3 separate regions of the Homo sapiens genome follow, and regions 2 and 3 are each linked to region 1. The links are contacts of gene promoters, found by promoter capture Hi-C in human tissues and cell types (Jung and others, 2019). All regions are on one chromosome and are shown on one strand. The core of a region is centred on a gene start or on the middle of the fragment in contact, and the rest is flanking DNA. Distances in the headings are between cores, read along the strand shown. Region 1 holds the start of ZNF324B (zinc finger protein 324B). Region 2 overlaps LOC124904784 (a long non-coding RNA gene). Region 3 has its middle 19 kb from the start of ZNF135.

Evidence for each region. The method cuts DNA at HindIII sites, captures the fragments that hold promoters and counts their contacts. A contact is called where the count stands out against the background at its distance.
Region 2: a contact is called between a fragment that was not itself captured here and the fragment with the promoter of ZNF324B in region 1, in 1 of the 25 tissues and cell types used here (spleen).
Region 3: a contact is called between a fragment that was not itself captured here and the fragment with the promoter of ZNF324B in region 1, in 1 of the 25 tissues and cell types used here (dorsolateral prefrontal cortex).

The regions. Positions count from the first base shown.
Region 1 is chr19:58,450,010-58,452,922 of GRCh38, forward strand. It overlaps ZNF324B (zinc finger protein 324B), which reads left to right and starts at 1,613. Exons shown (of 4, transcript NM_207395.3): 1 at 1,613-1,695. RefSeq lists silencers at 1,319-1,645, 1,623-2,052. The HindIII fragment of the contact is 12,073 bases long and covers 1-2,913 here.
Region 2 is chr19:58,164,217-58,166,916 of GRCh38, forward strand. All of the region lies in intron 1 of LOC124904784 (a long non-coding RNA gene), which reads left to right. Among named protein-coding and RNA genes, the nearest start is that of ZNF329, 15 kb to the left of the region's middle. The HindIII fragment of the contact is 6,997 bases long and covers 1-2,700 here.
Region 3 is chr19:58,076,691-58,079,499 of GRCh38, forward strand. No RefSeq gene overlaps it. Among named protein-coding and RNA genes, the nearest start is that of ZNF135, 19 kb to the left of the region's middle. The HindIII fragment of the contact is 6,468 bases long and covers 1-2,809 here.

The sequences.
Region 1 (2,913 bases), core at 363-2,862:
ATAATTCCCACATGTTGTGGAAGGGGCCCCAGTTAGAGGTAACTGAGTCATGGGGACAGTTTCCCCCATACTATTCTTGTGGTAGTGAGTAAGTCTCACGAGATCTGATGGTTTCATAAGGGGTTTCCTCTTTTGCTTGACTCTCATTTGCTCTTGCCTGCTGCCATGTAAGACGTGCCTTTCACCTTCTGTCATGATTGTGAGGCCTCTCCAGCCACGTGGAACTATGAGTCCACTAAACCTCTTTTTCTTTATAAATTACCCAGTCTCAGATATGTCTTTATCAGCAACGTGAAAACAGACTAATACACCAGGCATCGTGGCTCCTGCCTGTAGTTCCAGCTACTTGGGAGGCTGAAGTTGGAGGACTGTTTGAGCATGGGAGGCGGAGGTTGCAGTGACCCGAGTATGCACCACTGCACTCCATCCTGGGTAAGAGAGTGAGACCCTGTCTCAAAAAAAAAAAAAAAAAAGTAAAAAAAAATTGCTTGAAATGTTAATAATGCCTCTAAGCATTTGATTAAATCACAATAGTACTTAAGTGTTCTTAAATTCTTTCAAAGCAGGAAAAATTTAAATAAAAACATTCAAAAATTGTCGAGCTATCTTACACTATAGGGATCTACAAGTAGAATCAATTCTGTGGACAGTTATAGCTGACAGTAGACAGATATTTATAGATGGAGGTGGGTATAGAGGAAGACAAAATGAATTAACGTACTTGACATCTGAGAACTGTCTAAGGATCCTAAAAACAAGACCCTCACAGGGAAGCAACAAAGAGAGAATCGTTTATTCTCTGCCAACAACATGGTCAGTCTACATTGAGACTGCCCTGCCTTTTGTTGTTATGTGTCAAAGACACTTAGATTGGTCCAGAGAAAAAAGGAACAAAGCATCCATGTTGTGATGTGTGGGGCAAAGCAAGAACTAGATGGTCTAAGGACAAGCAAGGCTGGGGAATTACCTTCTGCTCGTCCAAGTTACAAGGAAAACAAGTTTTGGGCGAGCGTCCAAGAACAATCACAGAATCAAGACAAATGACAAGCGGGTAGTGTCATTACAGGCTGAGAATTCTTGGTGTAGAGGTTGAAAAACGGACCTTAAACCTTTACGGGACACTGACACACAGAGAGATCAAACCCTCGCCCAGGATGCACAGTCAGTGAGATGCAAAGCTGGGAAGGGAACCCGGAGCTCCAGGCATCTGCTCCTCCACCTACACCTGCCCTACCCGGTGCGTTTTCTCCTCCCTGCTACCTGCTGGTGTTGCCTTCTGGAACCTCCGCAGTTTCTGCTTTCACACCTGCAGGGTTTAGTCTCCAGGGCTGCTTAGGTGGGTGCCAGGAACTGGGAATCCCCAACGCGGGACAACCTGCCGGGCGACTCAACCAGTGCCACGGAGCCCTTGGAAACCCGCGGCAGCTGCGCTACTCCATTTCCAGGCGCCCAGCGCGGCGGCGCTTAGCCGTTGCCATGGAGACTGGTAATGGCCCCGCCTCCGCGCCGAAAAACAGGCAGGAACCACATAACCCAGAAGGCTGTGCGCAAGCGTCTGCGCGCGTATTGGGGCAATGTGAGCTCTGGGGGCTGGACTTCCGGCGTTGGGACTGTCACTTGGCTGCTCGCGTCAGGCCACACCGGTGGTCTGGGCTGTGGCGCGCGGGTCGGGGCCCGAGGCGGGCGGCCAGGAAGGTACGGACCACGAGCAGCCGGCCGCGCCCCCAAGCCTCGGTATCTTCGAGTATGACGTGGTCGGCCCGGGGGCGGTCGGGCCCCGGCGGGAACCACGCGTTCTCCCGCCCCGCGGAAGCCCAGGAGGCAGCGCATTGGGCATTCTGCGCCCATGACTGCCGGGCAGGCTGAGGCGCGGGGCAGCCGCGGGAGGCTGCTGGCGGGGATGGCGGTCCCGGGTGGTCCATGCCTTTCTTCCCTCCCAGTTGCGGGTTCCGCTGGCGGCGGTGGCGCTGACAAGCCCGCGCCGGGGGGGCGGGGGAGTCCCTGCTCACACAGACTGCGCCCCCACGGAGTGAGGCCGCTTCCTAGACCTCGCCTAGTCGTCTTTCCTCTCCCTGCCCTGGGGGGGTTGCGGGGGTCAGTGCAAACTCCTGCGTCCAGGGCACTGGTGAGCTCCCGACTTCCGGCAGCCAGGGGGCTGAGGTCCCGAAGGAGGCTCCGAGGGGAGAGTCCTGCGTGTGCAAAACCTGGGAGGGGAGCCGAAGCCCAGATGCTTCTGGGACTGAGCGCTCTCGATGTGGAGCTGGAGTAGAGGGGATGTGTGCGGCTGCAGTAGCAGGCGAGGGAGTGGGCTTTATCTCGAGGGCGTCGGGAGACATAGAAGTTTTGAACAGAATCAGGACATCCTCTGAGTTGGGACTTTAAAACGGTTCCACCGTTTGTTGCGTGGAGAACAGACATGCAGGGGTGTCGGCATGAAGGGAAGAACCGACTGCCACAGTCTGGGCAGCAGTGGAGGTGGGCGACCAGGTGAATTCTGGTGGATCTGCGGATGCATCAGGTGTGGGCTGTTTGAAGAACTAAGTACCCCATGTTGTTCAGCCTGAGCGCCTGGAAGAAGAGAGCTGCTGTAGATAGAAAGGAGAATTGAAAGGAAAGCAGGTTTCCTTCAGGGGAAAGATCAAGAGTCTGGGATGTCCCAGGTTGGTCATGTCACTGGACCTGACGTTGTTGGTGTCCTGGGCTGAGGACAGGGCCTATAAACTGGACTGAAGAAGGCGATGAGCAGTCAGGCGTGCGGAGTTACAGCTTGAGGGTAAAGAAAACCGGCTGGGGTGCCTGAGGCTATCAGGGGAGGAGTTCGGCAGGTGGCTGAATAGGAGAGGGTGGCAGCAATGTGGGAAAGAAATTGCGGGAGCGCTGAGATCGAGACCATCCTGGCTCACACAGTGAAAC
Region 2 (2,700 bases), core at 67-2,566, 290 kb before region 1:
TCCCAGCACTTTGGGACGCTGAGGCTGGTGGATCACGAGGTTGGGAGATCGAGACCATCCTGGCTAACATGGTGAAATCCCGTCTCTACTAAAAATACAAAAAATTAGCTGGGCATGGTGGCGGGCGCCTGTAGTCCCAGCTACTCAGGAGGCTGAGGCAGGAGAATGGCGTGAACCCAGGAGGCAGAGCTTGCAGTGAGCCAAGATCGTGCCACTGCACTCCAGCCTGGGCGACAGAGCGAGACTCCGTCTCAAAAGAAAAAAAAAAAAAAAGAAAGAAAGAAAAAGAAAAGAGAGTGAGAAATGACTACTAGCAGAGATTGATCTATTTTCCTATCAGCCACCTGGAGAGACTGGGCTTATTCTTATTTGCTCAGTCGCTCCTGGCAAGACAGATTTGGAAACAAATCAACATGCTTTCGATGTGCTTAATACCAGCATTTTCTCTCCAGCTCTTAAAATTATGGTTTTTTAATTGATTGAACAAGCCATAATTTATTCAGTGAACAACTGTAGGGGATGTACAAATGTATCTGGTTTTTTTTTTTTTTTGGATTGTGAAACTATCATCAAAAGCAAAGAGATAACCAGGAAGGAAGACATTTGTCTGAAAACCATATGCCAGGCCAGGCGTGGTGGCTCATGCCTGAAATCCGAGCACTTTGGGAGACTGAGGTGGGTGGATCACAAGGTCAGGAGTTTGAGACCAGCTTGGCCAACACGGTGAAACCCCGTCTCTACTAAAAAAAAAATACAAAAATTGGCTGGGCATGGTGGCGTGTACCTGTAATCCCAGCTACCTGGGAGGCTAAGGCAGGAGAATTGTTTGAACCCAGGAGGCAGAGGTTGCAGTAAGCCGAGACTGCGCCACTGCCCTCCAGCCTGGGTGACAGAGGACGACTCCGTCTCAAAACAAAACAAAACAAAATAAAAACAACAACAACAAAAATGCCATCCTGAAAGTGGAAAGATTCACAAAGAATGAGCTTCATTTCTTCACATTTGGAAGAAACCAGGACTGTAAGGTCCACTTAGAGAAGCAGAAGGAGGACCAGGAGAGATGAGTCAAACAAATGATGCTTGAGGAACACTGATTCAGGAATGAGGTTGCAAGAATAAGAAATGCACAGCTAATGTTAAGTAGAATTCAAGCCTTCTTCCACTAAACAATATTCTTTTTTGTTTTGTTTTGTTTTGTTTTTGAGACAGAGTCTTGCTCTGTCACCCAGGCTGGAGTGCAGTGGCAGGATCTCAGGTCACTGCGAGCTCTGCCTCCCGGGTTCATGCCATTCTCCTGCCTCAGCTTCCAGAGTAGCTGGGACTACAAGCGCGCGCCACCACACCCAGCTAATTTTTTGTATTTTTAGTAGAGACGGGGTTTCACCGTGTTAGTCAGGATGGTCTCGATCTCCTGACCTCATGATCCACCCTCCTTGGCCTCCCAAAGTGCTGCCATTACAGGCATGAGCCACCGCGCCTGGCCTTGTTTTTGTTTTTTGAGACAGAGTCTCATTCTGTCACCCAGGCTGGAGTGCAATGGCATGATCTTGGCTCACTGCGACCTTCACCTCCTGGGTTCAAGCAATTCTCTGCCTCGGCCTCTCAAGTAGCTGGGATTCAGGCACCCGCCACCACACCTGGCTAATTTTTGTATTTTTAGTAGAGACAGGGGTGTCGCCATCTTGGCCAGGCTGGTCTTGAACTCCTGACCTTGTGATCCACCCACGTTGGCCTCTCAAAATGTTGGGACTACAGGCGTGAGCCACCGTGCCTGGCCCACTAAACAATATTCTTATCAATGAATACCACTACATACATGACTCATTGTAAAACAACATTCAGATTTAATAAACCATAAATGCACAGGGAAAAACCCCTGAAAATTATGATTTTGGGAATGCTTTTGGTCAAAACACTCAACTTCTTAGACTTGCAAACAGTTCAGTGTAGAAAAGCCTTATATATGAAATATACGTAGTAAATTTTTTAAGTGTAGCACAAGTCTCAGTCAATGTAAGCGAATTCATGTTAGAGAGAGTTGAGTTGAATGTAAGGAATGTGGAAAAGTGTATTCAGAGCTCCTCTCATCTTTGTTTTGAGAGCACTCACACAGTTGACAAACCCTCCAGATGTTCTGAATGTGAGAAATCCCTGTTTATGGTAAATACTTTCTGACATCAGAGAAGTCATACTGGAGAGAGACCATATAAATGTAGTATGTGTAAAGAAGTCTTTAAACAGAGCTCAACCCCACTGATGTATGAGCAAACTCTCTCAGGAAATAGACCTTACAAATGTGTTGAGTGTTGGAGAGTCTTTATTAAGAAATATTTCTTTCAGTATGTTTCAGAACTTATACAGGAGAACAATACTATAAATGTAATCGCTGTAGCAAAGGCTGTAGACACAAATTATACCTTATTCAATATGAGACAATTTATACTTGTGGGAAATTATATATTTGCAGTGAATTTAGGAAATTCTTCTAAAGAAGTGAACACTTTTACCCTATAGCTAAGAATCTATAGAGACACCTTATGAAGGGAATCATTCAGGGAAAGGTTTTACACTTTGCTCCTCCACTACTCAAAAATCACAGAAGACACACTGGAGAGCAAAGTGATGGATACAGTCATCGTGGGAAAGGCTTCAGACGTAGCCTAGCCCTTATGATGTGACATCAGAGGACTCATACTGAGG
Region 3 (2,809 bases), core at 108-2,607, 370 kb before region 1:
AAAGTGATAAGATGAATACCAGCCCAGAGATGATAACAACTTGGGGATTATTGTGTTTGGTGAATGGGGTGAGGGACGTCACATTAAAACCATGGCATCAGGGCAAACCTCCGTGAAAAGACAGGCAGAGCCACAGCTGGAGAGACCTCCCCAGTACTGGGGCCTTGGTGAGGAGCTGGGGAGCTTAGATTTACCATGTCCCAGAAGCCACCCTCTCACTGAGCAGATTTCCCTGGCAGTTGCCCCCATCGCATGTGGCTGGTCCCTCAGGAGCCTGTGTCTCAAGAGCTACCTGGTCAGCCAGAGGCTGGACTTTGGAAAGCTGTTCATTTCATTGAGACATCTGGGAACCTTTCTACAAATTCATGTTCTCTCGAGTTGAGGGAAGGCTGGGCTGCACTATGTTTTGAGGCTCTGGCTTCATGGATTTGCCATGAAAGTAAGCTGAAACTCTAGGTCCCTCACTTTCAGGGATCCCTTCAAGACCAAGCGCCTAATTTTATCTTTGTAATTTTGAATTATTCTTCTGAAGAGGGACCCCTCAGTTGTGTGAGCCTTAGGCCCAACAAATCTGGATCGACCCCTGGTTCCAGCAACCCTCGTCTTAGAGACTTCTGCATGGACACTGGGAAGACAGAACCCAGCACTGCCAAGGGTAATGGATCTCCCATTTTGATGTGAGTGAAAACCACCTGAAGGTGGAGGGTGTTAAACCTGGGACCTTGCTTTGGTTGGTCCGAGGGGGTTTGGTAATCTGCACACCAAGGCACTGGGTGATTCTGAAACAGACCCGGAAGCCTCAAGTGAGAACTGTGCCCAAACTTCCTGAAGCAGTTTGTCTGCGAAGCCCATAGTTCCCAAGTGTGGCCCCATCCCAGGAGCCTCTCAGGTTGAAGGAACAGCTACTAATAAATCACTGACTTCACTGGACTCAGGGTAGGCAGAATGGAGTATCTGCCTTTCTTTGCATCAAAAGCACATCACCCTATCCTGTTCTGTATCTGCCTGAAGGAAGTCCACAGGGTATTCCCGAGACCCATCAGACACCTCACTCATTTTTTCATGATACCCAAGAGACACACTTAGAATGTACGCAGACTACACATATACCAAACACATTATACTCACATCTCATACCCTGAAAAATGACTGGGAGACATAAATACACTGAGATGTCAAAAGGAGTAGTCTGTTGCCCAGGCTGGAGTGCAGTGGCACGATCTCGGCTCACTGCAACCTCTGCCTCTGGGTTCAAATGATTCTTGTGCCTCAGCCTCTTGAAGTAGCTGGGACTACAGGCACGCACCACCATGCCTAGGTAATTTTTTTGTATTTGTACTAGAGTCAAGGTTTCACCATGTTGGCCAAGCTGGTCTTGAACTCCTGACTTCAGGTGATCCTCCCACCTGGGCCTGTCAAAGTGCTGGGATTACAGGCATGAGCCACAGTGCCCGGCCGAATCTGTGTTTTTAACTTTTACATAATTGGGAGAATTCTTTTTAAAATGGTGAAAAATGAACTTTATTATAAAAGCCCATGGCTGGGCGCGGTGGCTCACACCTAGCACTTTGGGAGGTTGAGGTGGGCAGATCACTTGAGGCCAGGGGTTCGAGACCAGTCTGGCCAACATGGTGAAACCCCATCTCTACTAAAAATACAAAAGTTAGCCGGGCATGGTGGCAGGGGCCTGTAATCCCAGCTATTCAGTACACCACGGCGAGAGAATCGCTTGAACCTGGGAGGCAGAGCTTCCAGTGAGCTGAAATTGTGCCACTGCACTCCAGCCTGGGTGACAGAACGAGGCTCTGTCTCAAAAAAAAAACAAAAAAAACTTTCAAAGGAATTTAAAAAACTGAAATAAATGTCCTCATAATTTCATGACCCTAACACAACTACTCTTTGCATTTCTATACTTTGTCTGCTAGGATTTGACAACTAATGCCCACTGTTTACACAGTTGCAACAGAATCAACAGTTACATTCTACTTGAACTACACTTACAAATTACTCTTCCAGCGCCGGGCGCGGTGGCTAACGCTTGTAATCCCCAGCACTTTGGGAGGCTGAGGCGGGTGGATCATGAGGACGTGAGTTTGAGACCAGCCTGACCAATATGATGAAACCCCGTCTCTACTAAAAATACAAAAATTAGCCAGGTGTGGTGGTGCGCACCTGTAATCCAGCTACTCCGGAGGCTGAGGCAGGAGAATTGCTTGGAGCTGGGAGACGGAGGTTGCAGTGAGCTGAGATCACGCCATTGTACTCCAGCCTGGGCAACAGAGCGAGAGCGAGACTCTGTCTAAAAAAAAAAAATTCTTCGATTTTGCTAGTCTTAATTATCATTTATGCCTTTTTACTATTGCTTTGAATGGCTCTACCATTCATATTTAAGTCATAGTATTTAACTTCATGCAAACCAGCATCCTTGTGTATATATATATTTTTGGTCCTTTTTTTTCCTTTTTGTGGAGGAAAAAGTGGGGTCTCACTATGTTGCCCAGGGAGGTCTTGAACTCCTGGGCTCAAGGGATCCTCCCACCTTGGCCTCCCAAAGTGTTGGGATTATAGGTGTGAACCACTGTGCCTGGCCCCGTATTGTTACTGAATACAGTTGGACTGTTAGCTTTCCAAAATGATTGCACTAGTTGACACTGATTCATAAAACTCTCCTCAACTCAAATAGTGATGGCAGACATGTATTTGTCTGCTTGGGTTGTGATCACAAAATACCACAGGCTGGGAAGCTGAATCAACAGGAATTTATTAATATTTTCTCCCTGTTCTGGAGGCTGGAAGTCAGAGTGGGTTC